5 separate regions of the Homo sapiens genome follow, and all the other regions are linked to region 3. Evidence: promoter capture Hi-C in 16 types of primary human blood cells and fetal thymus (Javierre and others, 2016). All regions are on one chromosome and are shown on one strand. The core of a region is centred on a gene start or on the middle of the fragment in contact, and the rest is flanking DNA. Distances in the headings are between cores, read along the strand shown.

Region 1 (2,700 bases), core at 95-2,594, 160 kb before region 3:
CATGTAGGTTCCCTGAAATAAATGATAAAAGTGGCTTTGAGTCTGATGGCCCAGGACCTGTCCCTAACATCTGGATGAAGTCTTCATCATAGCAATGAGGAGGAAGGCATTGCTGGGGAATCCTGCAAGTAAATTTCCTGAGGCAGAAGACAGTTAAAATGTCAGGGCTCTGTCTCGGGAAATCCAATTCATGATAAGAGATAAACACTTTGGAATATGATACTATGTGGCGAGATGACAGACATGGAGACATCCTCTTTTAAAAGAAAAGTTTATTACAGTTTCCAAGAGAAAGGGGCATGTCACACCATGAGAGCCACACAGGGAAGAACAAGGTCAATCAGGAAGCAGCAGAATGAGGAAAAAGCCTGGGCAAAACCTTTACTGTTGTTTTCACAGAAGGCATGGGTGAAACAGAGTAAGCAGCCGAGCAGGCTGAGGATTGGATAGTTTCAATAAATAGGCTCTAAGCTATGGGGTGAGCTCTATTTTTCTGGTTCCTGGCCCTGGGGCAATTTAGGGTAGGGGGACAGACTGTAGGAGCAGATAAAATAAGGATGGTGAGGGTGCGAACTCAGGATTGGTTGGTTTGCGTACTAAATACATGCTCTCAGGTAAACTGTTCACTCACGATAGCAATTAGCTAACCCTGGGATGGGCAGTATGCCCCCTAGGTCTGCAAGGCCCTAAGAAGTCAAAGCCTCATAAAATATGGAAAATAAAATAAATGATTAATATACCCAACCCCTCAAAAATTTTGTTCTAAGAGTGCGGACAAAAGAAGCAATAGCCCAAAAGAGCTTAATCTCTTGGAGTTCTTGTGGGCTGAAAGAATTGTGATCTTTGTAGAAAACTCTCCCTTCACACTCAGGTGGAAATAGAGGCCCAAACTAAGGCAGTAGGAGCAAAAAAAGAACCTAAAGAAAGAAAACAGCCTTTCAAGAGGACAGCAATTCATAAGACAATGTTGGTAAGCTTATGTGAATGGTGCCTCTGGATGGTACAGTGCACTATCTGCACAACTGTGTACAGTAGTCCTCAGTTTGAGTGCCCAGGACACACAAGAAAGGGAGGGCATATCAGTCAAGGTTTTTAGTTACAAACAACAAAATCGACTTTAGCTAGTTCAATCAGAAAATATTCGGTCATTTATAGCATTGGGGCTCAGAAAACAATATATGGTGCTTTGGCATGCCAAGCACTCTGAATTAAAGAAAATTGGAAGGTCTTAGAAGCTGCTTCAGAATTAGGGTCTCTCTTATCTTGTTTTTCCCCCAAGGGTAGGGAAGGTCTCTCTCTCTCTCTCTTTCTGTGAAGTTTTCTTATTTGACTGAGGGAAGTTTCTCCAAAAGAAATATAATTGTCTTTAATCCCTGTCTGAAATCTTATTAACCAGGAAGAATTAATCACCAAAGATGAAAACAAAGGTCATCACCACATCCCCACCCAGACAGACTTTTCATCTATTCTTTTGAAGGATATTACCTGAGAGGCTTTATCTTCATTGTAAGACAACCTTTGTTCCCAGTGCAGTTCTGCCCCTCACCTTCCCACAACTTGTCACCACCTCCCCGCAAGCCCAGAAGAACTTTGTTCCAGGCTATTATTTGTTTTTCAGGCCTATCTTATCCCCTGGAGACTATTTACTCTTCCTCCAAAATTGCCTATGTTCCCCACTTCCCTCTTCCCTAGGAAGCGGGTATGTAAGCTTTAATCTGGCCCTTCTTTGAGTTTCATATTTTGTGTGTGTTTGCATATTAACAAATTTGTATGCCTTTTCCCCTGTTAATCTGCCTATTGTCAGTTTATGTCAACAGACTCAATTATCCAACCTTCAGAGGGTGGAGAGAAAGTTCCCTTTGCTGTGACAACAGGAAGGCTAGAGAGTGACAGCCAGGGGCAAAGCAGCCAGAGGAAACACCGAGCTACAGCACAGACCTCTTCTAGCAGAAATGCCGCTGCTGCTGCTTTCTGCTGCTTGGCACCTTGATGCGAGGGACTGAACTTTAGTGGCAGAAACTCTACCCCAGCTGCCCCAGAAGAACCAGCTATGCCTGTCAGAAGATTAAGTCTCTAAATCATATGAGGATTCCTAAATGCCAGGGAAACTGGGGAATATGGATGTTAGCCTTTAGGCACTCTAGCTCAGGAAGGCAAATTAAAAGGGCACTGGAACCTGGGTTAAGTGAGCCAATTTATGCTATCTGCCACAGTAAAATATGAGAAACTTGGAGTTTCAGGAATAAAACTGGGGAGTAGAGGCAACTACCACTGGGATTTTCACCTGAGTACTTGACGGTCCTCATGCCAGCATAAGCTGGGGAGCAAAGGCTGAAGTATCTGAAGTAAGAAGCACCAGAACTCTTCCAGTAGACAGCCTTTTGCCCATAGACACATTCCCGAAACAATGAACTAAATCACGTGCTAAGTGCCACATATAATATTTATCACTTTAAGAATCCCATTGTGAATTCTTTTGCAAAGTGAATAACCATTCTTCTATATTTCTTTCCTGTGAAACTGGATTTAATATATTGAACTTTCTTAAATCAAGGTATACTGTCCCTTTGGAGCCTTTTAAAAGAACAGAACATCACAAATCTCATGAAAGGAGGCTATAAAAAGTCACAGTTTTGACATAACAGGCATCACATAACTGCACATGGAAACTGACAACTGTCGATGCCATTGTTCAATTTC
Region 2 (2,700 bases), core at 24-2,523, 230 kb before region 3:
GGAAATATGCCTTGGACGTAATAAGCTGTGATCTATGTAATGAGGAGGAAAGTCCTTCTTTTGTTAAAGGAAAAAAATAAAACCTGTGGCAGTATTAACCCAGAATAGCTATTGATCTGCCGTGCTTCCCCACATTTTGTATGACAGGCCAGTATATGAAATGGTGACCAAGGACAGAGAGACTGCAACCTTGCTTTCAATTTTATGGGTTGCGTGTAGCTACAAAGAGGGCTGGGAAGCTTGTGTTTTTCCTTGTGGAAGCATTTATGTGTTTTATCCTTTCCTGGGCTTTCCTGAGAATTCGAACCAACAGCATTTTAGAAACTGAGGCAAGTGCTGAGTTATAATCAAAATTCACTTACCAAGCAAAGAAAATTGTGTATTTACCATGCTTCTATAGGTCACCTTCATTCTCAATCTTATTATGGTGATTACTCAGTAACCTGGGATTCCTTCGAGCAAGCTGATGCCTTTCCTTCTAAATGGAAGGCAGAGCCTTCCTGGGGACATCAGATCCTCTGGTTAAAGCCATTACACCCCTGAAGCTCACCCTAATTAAAAGGGACATTTAGAGTAGCCAGCCTTGAACATAAGAGACCTCAGCTTTCAGTGAGTGCCAGGCAGTGGAGTGCAAACAAGACCATTTCCCTCAGTCTCTGCCTGTCTCTGTCTCTGAGGACCACTTGCACAGATTAGGGTTCCAAATGGTGCCCCCACTTCTTTCCACCCCATGAAAAGTGACCGTCAAGGAGCCAGCTCTCTTGGCCAGCTGCCCTCTGCTTCCTCATTCACAGAGGTTATTGAAATGTGACGAGCAGACTTCAGGCTGGCGCTCATGAGGGCGCCTGCTCCTGGTCCTGATTCAGCACTCCTCTCTCCCTCCTGTCCTTTGCTTGTTTCTAAACCAAGAAAGCCTTTCTCTCCTGGCTCCACTCCCATTGGCGCCAGCTGCTTCTACAGCGCCCTGCCCTGGGCAGCCCTGCCTTCTTTTGCCCCATCTGCAGAGGTGCCCTTTGAGGGGAGGAGCGGTCAGTCCCTGTGCCCAGGTTTTTCCAGAGAAGGCTCTGTAGTGCTAGGGGTCGGTCTGGGGTCAGTCATCAGCACTTCCCAAGCAGGCAGTAGCTAGGCTGAGGCTGGCTGAGTGACTTCCTCCTCTTAACCACAGCGTTTGATAAACAAGTTTCTGAAAGAAGAATAGTAAAATGCTTTCTGGCAAACTTCCATGAGGCCCTCTCTGATACCTCCAACCTGTGCCTGCACCACCCCAGACAACCCCATTAACCTTGAGGTGCAACAGAAACACACACGTGCACACACACACACACACACACACACACGAACACATGGAGTGGGAGGGGCATATGGGACAATCGTGGCTTTAAGTGCCCGACAGATATGAAATCTAAAGCTGGGGCACTTCAGTACCATTTGTTGATGCATCCACGTGCCTTCCATTCTAAGACCAACTTGTGTGGATAAATGTGTATTGAGTGGCAGTGGGGAGGGTGGGAGCTGTAAGGAAGAGGAGGAGGCAGAGACCAGGAAAGGAGAGATGTGAGATGTGTGCCCACCTTTGCCATTTATGGGATAATCTTTGGAAATCCCGTGCTGCCCCGGGGTTTGCTAACTCTGTTTCATACAGCACAGCAGGTGGCTCAATGAGAGGTAAAGACCTGAGCATTGTCTAGAGATTTAGAGGTGGCCTTTGGAGTGTTCTGCGTGAATACCTACTTTACAGCAGTTAAAGGCTTCCAACAAGACTGTTTAATAGCTGGTATGTGGGTTACTCAGTTCCTCTCCACACAGTCACCTCTGACAGTCCCATTCCCAGTCCTCTGGGCATTTCACTGTCTTGTTTCTCTGTCCAGTCTGGAGCCACTTTGCCAGAGGGGCTGGATAAAGGGTAAGGAAGGGGACCCCAAGCTGGTGGTGGTCACTGTGCGAGCATTATTCTAAAGGCTTTGCAGCCTCTTCCAGCCCATGGGTTCTGTGAATATTGTATGACACTCCACTCTGTGGGCTCAGAGCATTCGTGCGGCTTTTCTGGTTAATGGTGATTGCAAATGAGGCTCCTGAGTCACATAACGGGGAGGCCCAGAGCCTGGAGCAGTAATTTGGTTAGCCCTGTGCCGGTGATTGAGTTGTAGGGGAGGCTGAAGCTGGCGGCTATGATGAGGTGAGCCGATTACCTCTGTACTGCATTTATCCAGCAGCCCCGAAGCAAATTTGGTGGAATTCTCTTCACTGTGATCCCTCAACCTGCAGGGACTATTTGGGAAAATTAGAAAATAGATACGGAAAGCTTTCTTTGAAATCCGCAGAGAGGTCTGAATTACTTGGATGGCTTCCCTGGGTAAGATGGATTATTTTCCTAGCAATTAACAACAAGAAAAAAAATTAACTGTCTGTGGGGGTATTTTACCCTTAGCAAAGTCATCTTCACCCAACTAGCTCTGTTTCCTCCAAAGGGAAACAGTGACCTGGTTAGACAAGAAATGTCCTGTGGAAGGAATCAACCCAAAGAATGGAGACCTTACTGACAAAATTGAGACTAGAAGTTAGGTCTTCTAGGTCAGGTGCGGTGGCTCACGCCTGTAATCCCAGCACTTTGTGAGGCCGAGGCAGGTGGATCACCTTAGGTCAGGAGTTTGAGACCAGCCTGGCCAACATGGTAAAACCCACACTCTACTAAAACTACGA
Region 3 (2,700 bases), core at 131-2,630:
AAATGCAAATCAAAACCACAATGAGATACCATCTCATGCCAGTTAGAATGGCAATCATTAAAAAGTCAGGAATCAATGGATGTTGGAGAGGATGTGGAGCAATAGGAATGCTTTTACACTGTTGGTGAGAGTGTAAGTTAGTTCAACCATTGTGGAAGACGGTGTGGCAATTCCTAAAGGATCTAGAACCAGAAATACCATTTGACCCAGCAATCCCATTACTGCGCATATACTCAAAGGATTATAAATCATGCTGCTGTAAAGACGCATGCACACGTATGTTTATTGCAGCACTATCCACAACAGCAAACACTTGAACCAACCCAAATGCCCATCAATGATAGACTGGATAAAGAAAATGTGGCACATATACACCACGGAATACTATGCAGCCATAAAAAAGAATGAGTTCATGTCCTTTGCAGGGACATGGATGAAGCTGGAAACCATCATTCTCAGCAAACTAACACAGGAACAGAGAACCAAACACCACATGTTCTCACTCATAAGTGGGAGTTGAACAATGAGATCATATGGGCACAGGGAGGGGAACATCACACACTGGGGCCTATCGGGGGCGGGGGGGCAAGGGGAGAGATTACATTAGGAGAAATACGTAATGTAGATGACGAGCTGATGGGTACAGCAAAACACCATGGCACGTGTATACCTATGTAACAAACCTGCACGTTCTGCACATGTATCCCAGAACTTAAAGTATAATGAGAAGAAAAAGAAAAGGAAAGAAAAGGAAGGGCAAATTGCAAGCACTTCAAAGACTGAGGTCCTTCTGAAACCTCTGTGACAACTGACCAGGAATGCCTACATAGAAGTGGTTTGCAACCCAGCCTCCCACCCCACCTGACCATTCTGCCACTCCTGCAAGTCCACTCACAGTGGCCAGGGCATGGGAACTCAGCTTTCTCCAACCCTTGGCCCCAGATCAACCCCTTGTGGGTCTCTCTATCCCTTTCAGGGCAGTTCCTTTCCTGGGGACCAGCTCCAGTGAGCCCATTCAGGGCCTTGAGAGCCACATGTCCCATCTCTTCATCTACGCAGCCACCACAAGCTTAGCACTGGACCCCAGGATTCTAGAAAGTCCCAGCCTGGAGGTCTGACGTGTACTGTCTCCATTCAGGGAAACACAATCCCCACGGCTGCAACTTCCCCCTGACACAGGCGACCTTCAGGCAGACAGCAGGAAAACTTTCTGGCCGCCGCTGACGACTGGTCCAAACAGTTCCCCGCCAGGAGAGAGGCTGGGAAAGGGAAGGCAAGGGCAGGTGCAGAGGCTTAGAATTCTCCGCCACGCACACACGCAGATTAGATGGGGCCCAGGGAGGCTGCGGAGTGCGGTTCCCATGGTAACCGAGAGCTGCCACAAACGCCGGGGCCTGAGATCGCGGTGGATGCACGCGCGGGAGCCTGGCTTGGGTAAGGGCTGCGCACGTTAGCAATGCGCTCCTCCTCCTCTTTCTCCTCCGCCTCCCTCTCCACCCACTCTCCTCCTCCTCTTCCCCCTCCTTCTCTGAGGGAGAAAGCAGGGAGCAGAGTGGAGGATCTGGGCAACAAAGAAGCGCCAAGTACATAGACTTCTTTGTTTCTCTCGCCCTTTCTCGGCCTCTCTATTCCCTTGGCCTTTCTGACATCTGCTTCGACCCAGCTTCTTCCCATTGTGAAGGCCGTTGTTGGGTCATGATATTTCTACAAATAAAGGATAAGGGGTCACTTTCTCTCCAGAGAGCCCCTAGCTCTGGGGGGAAGTGCGAGTGTGGATACTATGACTTCTTCCTTGACAGCCTGAATATAGACCAGTCCCCCAACCAGGAACAAATTCCCCAGATCGAAAACTCCAGCCTTGCCCACGAAGCGACTCCTGTGGCCCAAAGGCAAGTCACTCAGCTTCCCCTGTTTCCTTCCCCTACCTCTCTAATGTGGGGGGTAAACAGCAGTCCTAACTGGCCTTCCAGGGAGATGTGAGCAGTGACCAAGGTCAGTGTTTTTACAAGTGTTCTGTTCCAAGTGATGGCTCAAAGTCACCCTCCTTGAAAGTTCAAACCTGAATATATTCGAAATTCTATTTATAAAAAAGGTCCTAGGAAATGATGTTGTAATGAGTGCACTGGGTGTCTATAGTGCTAAACACTGCACTGATTGGTCTAAGGGGGTTGCCAGAACATTTTGATTTCATGTTTGCCCCCTGGCATGTTTTAATGTAGATCCAGATCAGCCCAGGCCTGGCACCATGGAATTCACAGAAGTAGGTCATCAGTTGTTCCCCTCATGGGGGAGAGCAGCAGACTTCAGCCAAGAATCACACAAGTTAATGAACAAGGTTATAAACAGCTATGGTAGATGATAACAGCAACAAGAACACATTACGTTTGCAGAGCACCATGGAATCCTTGGAGTCCTTTACAGAAATGAGGCTTCTCACCTTGATCCATCTAGGGTTTCCAAGCATCGGCTGGGAGAAGCCCAGTGAAAGCCAAGGGTCACCCACTCCATCTTCTTCACCAGCTCCCAGCTTGCTGTCTTAGCCCACCCATAACTCATCTCTTGAGTTTCCCCCATAGCAGGAGGGAAAGTGAAGTGATGGGGGCTGAAAAGTCCAAACCAGAAATTTCATTTGTGGTCAGCCTCCTGTGTGCCTCTCCTTCCGTTGGATCATCCATTCGATCCACATCCTTCTGTTGAAAT
Region 4 (2,700 bases), core at 133-2,632, 130 kb before region 3:
TTAACTGTCACCACAGTGATGCACGTAGTTAACAAAAGTATGTATTACTAAGAAAACCAGTCAACAAATAGACCACAATGGTTATTTCTGCTTAAGAGCAGCAGAACGTGTTAACTGGTGAATCTGTCTAAGGCTTTACACAAGGAATGCATTTTTTAAATGGGTTCCTAGTTTGTGATAAAATTGCAGGTGCATTTTACAGGTGTTAACAAAGGAGAATGGGCTGGGGCACAGTGGCTCATGCCTGTAATCCCAGCACTTTGGGAGGCTGAGGTGGGTGGATCACTTGAGGTCAGGAGTTCAAGACCAGCCTGGCCAACATGGTGAAACCCCCGTCTCTACTAAAAATACAAAAAAAAAAAAATTAGATAGGCATGGTGGTGGGCACCTGTAATTCCAGCTACATGGGAGGCTAAGGCAGGAGAATTATTTGAACTTGGGAGGCAGAGGTTGCAGTGAGCCAAGATCGCACCACTGCACTCCAGCCTGGATGATGGAGCGAGACTCCATCTCAAAAACAAAAACAAAAACACAAAAAACAAAGGAGAATGCCTCTGACAAATGCAAAGCAACCTTCCAGAATACTGCAGATAATACCATTTCCCTTTACCTGGACTAAGCACTGGAAATGAACAACACTTGAACTGCAGAGAGCATTCAGGCCCAGAAATAAACCAGGAGCCATGTGGTAAGATGTGGGTGTTTGCCTGCAAGCCACAAGAGAGGAAGTGCTAAAGGATGGAGTATAATGTGAAGGGAAGAGAAGAGGATGTTGCTGGACAAGCGTACAGTGGCGTGGCCCTTGGCATTCATTGTCCTTCACTTGGCCTAAATCCCAAGTCCATGACATTTTAAAAACCCTGCATGTTGGGACTGCACCAATTTTTTAGGAAGATGTTTTCCAAATGTATGACAATGCTCTTCCACATCATAATACTAGTTAAGGCTTACTAGAAAAACAGGCTTTCTCCAGTCTTAATAGGCATATGAATCATCTGAGGATCTTATTAAAATGCTTATTCTGTTTTGGTCACTCTGTTGGAGCCTGAGATTCCTACATTTCTCACAAGTTTGTGGGTGATGTAGATGCTCCTGGTCCATGAACGAGGAGGAGCAGTGTTACATAGCATTACCACGAGCCAGGCACTGTTATGGGTGCTTGATGTATAGTGTTTACTCATCACAATATACTTCTTAGGTAAGTACCATTATTTTTTTCCCTTTTTGTAGATGGGAAAAGATAGACACGGAGAGGTTATGTAACTTACCTAAGGTCACATAGCCAATAAGGAACCAAGACAGGATTTGACCCCAGGCAGTCAGTGCCAAAGTCTGGGTCTCTTTGAGAGCTGACTTTCAAAAAATCAGATTTAATTCTTACAGATACAGTTCCTCACACTCCCCTATCCCACTGTGAAATCATACATGCAGGCTCAGCTTTCTACTTGTAAGCATTTCTTCACACATTTCTTTGACAACATTGATCATGCAACTACTTCGAACCAGCCCTGGGCTAATCTCTAAGTTTAAAAAGAGCAGACCTGTGCCAAACGGAGTTCACAGGTCAGGGGGAACAGGCCGGGCAGAGGGAGAAGTAAACCAACAGCTCTAATGCAGGCTGACCCACATGGGAGTCACAAAATGCATCAGATACACTTGCATTTCCAAAATGGACATAACTAGGTTATTGTTTTTTTCTTCCTTAAGTGGAAGGGAAGAGAAGAAAAGGAAAGTTAAGATTTTTAAAAAACTCTTATATAATAGGCTTTGGACATATTACCTCATTTAACCCTCACATCAACCTGAAATACAGGTTATATTATCCCCTCTTTAAAGCTGTATCAGACACTCTCCAAGATCACAGAGATAGCCAACTGGGAGTTGGCATTTGAATTGATGTCTAACTGACTCCAAAGCTGGTATTTTCTGAATACATCACTGTTCTAACAATCTATTACTGCAAAATGATCCCAAAACTAAGTGGCCTATAATAACTATTTTATTACGTGCAAAGATTCTGTAGGTCAGGTGTTCAGAAAGGCCACAGCTGGGAAGGTTTTCTGCTCCAAGATATCTGGGGCCTCAGCTGGGGTGACTCAAAGGTGGGCAGAAGGTAGAGAGACACAGGTGAGGCTGGAGAATCCACTTCCAAGGGGGCTTCCTTATTCACTGTCTGGTGCCCGGGTTGGGAAGTCTTAGGGATATGTGTATTCATCTGGAATTGTCACTTGGAGTGTTTCCATGTGGCCTCTCCAGCATGGCAGTCTCAGGACAGTCAGGCTCTTCACATGGTGGCTCAGGGCTCCTAGAGTGAGTTTTCCAATAAAGAAGATGGAAGATGCATTCCACCCTTTGAAGTCATGTAACATTACTGTTCTTTTCTCTACAGTCCACTCATTGGTCACAGAGCATACCACGTGCAAGGGCAGAACGCAGCCCCCATCTCTTGATAAGAGATGTGCCAAGGAACTTATGACCACATTTTAAAACCACCACAATCACTTTCACCACAAGAACCAACCTAATATGTAGTTCTTGCCTCTTAGAACCACATGGAAGCCTTTCAATAACACAGCCCTTTTAATAACAGAGGACATCCACAGTCCAACATGGGTCTACTTGGACCCCATCGAAGAGAGTGAGTTACTGAGTGAGTGAAAGATACCAACAGAGTGAGCTCCCCTGTAATCCACCCTTGGG
Region 5 (2,700 bases), core at 179-2,678, 210 kb before region 3:
AAGACACAGGGCTGGGGTGTTGAGGGCCAGGGGGAGGAAGGCAGAGATCTTTGAATGCTGAGAGACTTGGGTTTTGGTCTTCATGGTCAGGGGAGGGAGCCTTTGGAGGAAAGCTGTAACTCAGAGAACAAGGCCTAGGAAGCGAGGGAGCTGGGGTAGGGCTGTCCTACAAAACGGAGAAATGTCACAGGCACAGAGGATGTAGCCAGAACAGGTATGATATGAGGGCCCAGTGTGCACTGATGCTGTTGAATGAACGAACAGATGAGGAAGCTGCTCAGAGCTCAGGAAAGCAGCAACAGAAAGTACTGTCCCAAGTAACTTCTTGCTCACCAAGTTGTTTCCTAAGAGACTCAGCATTTCACATTTTCCCCTATGGTTACCTTCTGCAGAAAAGTGAGCTGGGAAAAGTGGATCCTCAGGAAGACTACTTCACGAAGGTGTGAAAAGGTCAGTTCAGATGTCACTCCCTCCAAGGTGACACTAAGCACACACCCCAGGCAGGGCTGGGGGCTGCGCTCCTGGCTTGGGGGAAATCCGTTTTCTGGGGAAGAGTGTGGTGTGAGGTCTTTTCTCCATCATCCACATTCCCATCTGTTAACGCAGTGCTCCCAGAGTCGAGATAATGATTTAAAAGCTCTAATTTTGTTACATTCTGAATCCTGTCTGCCATCAAGGCTGATTGTAATGAGATTTGGCTAGGAGCTTGGCTCTTAGCTGGGGTCAATTTATCTTTGGGAGAAAGCGCTCCCATCAAAACGCCCAGGAATTATTAGCACTTAGAGGAAAGCTGAAGAGACCTATTAATGCGAGATGCCTAGGGAGTCCTGAAGTGTGAGGTGCAATTATATTTCTTATTTATTTCCCCCAGCTTCATGTTTAAGAGTGAAGAAAAGATGGGTAAGTAAGATCTCGTGGAAATCGATAAATATGTATTAAGCACCCACGATACTGTCATGCTGCCGTACGTTTGCATACCGCTTTAGCACTCACAGCAGTGGACACATTAGCACACGCCTTGGTTCTCTGTCACTTCTCAGCACAGCCCTGCAGAGTAGAGGATGGCTTCTTTTTTTGGTTTTTTGGTTTTTGTTTTTTTTGTTTTTTTTTTTGAGACAGAGTCTCGCTCTGTCGCCCAGGCTGGAGTGCAGTGGCGCAATCTCGTGGTTTTTGTTTTTTAATAAATGAGGAATAAGGCTCAGAGCAAATAAGTCCCCTTCTCTGATAAGTGATAGAGATTTAAACCTGGATTTTTCCAACTCCGATGCGCTGCTTTAACAAATTATACCACAAAACATTGTTTGTGTGCCAGGCTCTATGTGTCTGGAGGTCCAAAGACATTTAGCACTGGTCTCTTTCCCCACAGTGGTTTTCAACTCCACCTGCATGTTGGAATCATCTAGGGAGCTTGAAACCAAGGGGAAGGGCTGAAACCTGGGTCTCAACCCCAGATACTCTGCCTTAATTAGATGAGGTTAGGCCCAGAGCCTTCCAGCTTACAAAGAAGGAAGAAAATGGCCAGTGACAGGTGAGGGGTATGGAGGCTACCCCAGACCACTTTGAATATTCTGTTATTGCTTTTGTTAATAGCAGAGCTTTATCGACAGCAGCAAGGGGGGCAGGTCCTGTGCCTGCTGTGGGCCTGACTACATTCAATCTAACTTACAACCCTTTGAGGCAGCTAACATTACTGACACTCTTAGAGAATTCGATGTGGCGTTGTGGGACAAATAAAGGGTTTGGCACTAAAAGGAATTGACTTCAAAACCAAGTTCTGCCAGTTTTTACTTGTATAATTTTTTAACTGAAGTTCACTTAAACCTAAGTCAGATTTGCCTAGTATGTAAAACGGGTTGTAAAAATTGCCCTAATTATAGAGTGGTGAAGATTAAACAGATGAGAATGGATCTTTGACCTTTGTAAGGCCTAAAATGTAGACTATTTGGTACTATGTTCACTGTTTGGGTGATGGGTTTACTAGAAACCCAAACCTCAACATCACTCAATATACCCATGTAACAAGCCTGCACATGTACCCTTGAATCTAAAATAATATTTTTTTAAAAATACAGTCCCAATGTTACTACAGAGGAGAGAGCTGAGGCTCAGAGCCAGTAAGTAATTTGCCCAAGGTCACACCAGGTCACAGCCCAGATCTTTGACAAACACTGTCAGCACCACTCCCTATACTGTCAGGCCTGTAGGACTAAACCACCAGATTAACACTTGCACAGTGCCTGCTGGCCCTGAAGGCCTTTGCATCTTTTGACCTTGTCTTAAAGGTAGGGTAGGATAGTGCTGAGTGATGAGAAGCAGGACAGGCTTCATGGTGTCTTTGGATAGCAGTTTTGAGACCAAAATCTTTCAAGTGCTTGGAGAATCACAGAATAGATGGAGTTCTCTAGGGCTGAGAGTTTACATTCAGGTAACTGGAGAGTTTTAAAGCTGAAAGGCATATCAACGGTAGATTTCACAAAGGAAAAGAAAATTGGAAAAACTCCAGAAGTAGACTGAGATTTAAGGTTTTTAAAGTAATGCTATAAAAAGACCTGCCTGGGAAAATAGGGCAGACTTGCCTTGCCTATAGTGGTTCTGAGGATCAGCTGAAATAGTGTACACGTGCTTTAAAAATTCGGAAGCAGCAGTTTTCAGCTCTGGCCACGTATTAGAATTGCCTGGGGAGCTTTTACAGAACTCCAG

The links. Contacts are between HindIII fragments. The CHiCAGO score rates a contact against its expected background, and 5 or more counts as called.
Region 1: a contact is called between a fragment that was not itself captured here and the fragment with the promoter of ERICH6B in region 3, in 2 of 17 cell types (M1 macrophages and M0 macrophages). The highest score is 5.9, in M1 macrophages.
Region 2: a fragment that was not itself captured here is called in contact with the fragment with the promoter of ERICH6B in region 3 in 1 of 17 cell types (M1 macrophages); the score reaches 5.2 in M1 macrophages.
Region 4: a contact is called between a fragment that was not itself captured here and the fragment with the promoter of ERICH6B in region 3, in 1 of 17 cell types (M1 macrophages). The highest score is 5.4, in M1 macrophages.
Region 5: a contact is called between a fragment that was not itself captured here and the fragment with the promoter of ERICH6B in region 3, in 1 of 17 cell types (M1 macrophages). The highest score is 5.1, in M1 macrophages.

The regions. Positions count from the first base shown.
Region 1 is chr13:45,769,909-45,772,608 of GRCh38, reverse strand. No RefSeq gene overlaps it. Among named protein-coding and RNA genes, the nearest start is that of CBY2, 69 kb to the right of the region's middle. The HindIII fragment of the contact is 733 bases long and covers 978-1,710 here.
Region 2 is chr13:45,846,260-45,848,959 of GRCh38, reverse strand. All of the region lies in intron 1 of SIAH3 (siah E3 ubiquitin protein ligase family member 3), which reads left to right. Among named protein-coding and RNA genes, the nearest start is that of SIAH3, 4.1 kb to the left of the region's middle. RefSeq lists an enhancer at 1,261-1,951. The HindIII fragment of the contact is 2,063 bases long and covers 242-2,304 here.
Region 3 is chr13:45,614,419-45,617,118 of GRCh38, reverse strand. ERICH6B (glutamate rich 6B) reads left to right here and starts at 1,380. Exons shown (of 15, transcript NM_182542.3): 1 at 1,380-1,434. RefSeq lists an enhancer at 1,256-1,757. The HindIII fragment of the contact is 3,697 bases long and covers 1,072-2,700 here.
Region 4 is chr13:45,745,297-45,747,996 of GRCh38, reverse strand. No RefSeq gene overlaps it. Among named protein-coding and RNA genes, the nearest start is that of CBY2, 44 kb to the right of the region's middle. The HindIII fragment of the contact is 3,026 bases long and covers 1-2,700 here.
Region 5 is chr13:45,823,290-45,825,989 of GRCh38, reverse strand. The region is part of intron 1 of SIAH3 (siah E3 ubiquitin protein ligase family member 3); the gene reads left to right. Among named protein-coding and RNA genes, the nearest start is that of SIAH3, 27 kb to the left of the region's middle. The HindIII fragment of the contact is 3,095 bases long and covers 1-2,700 here.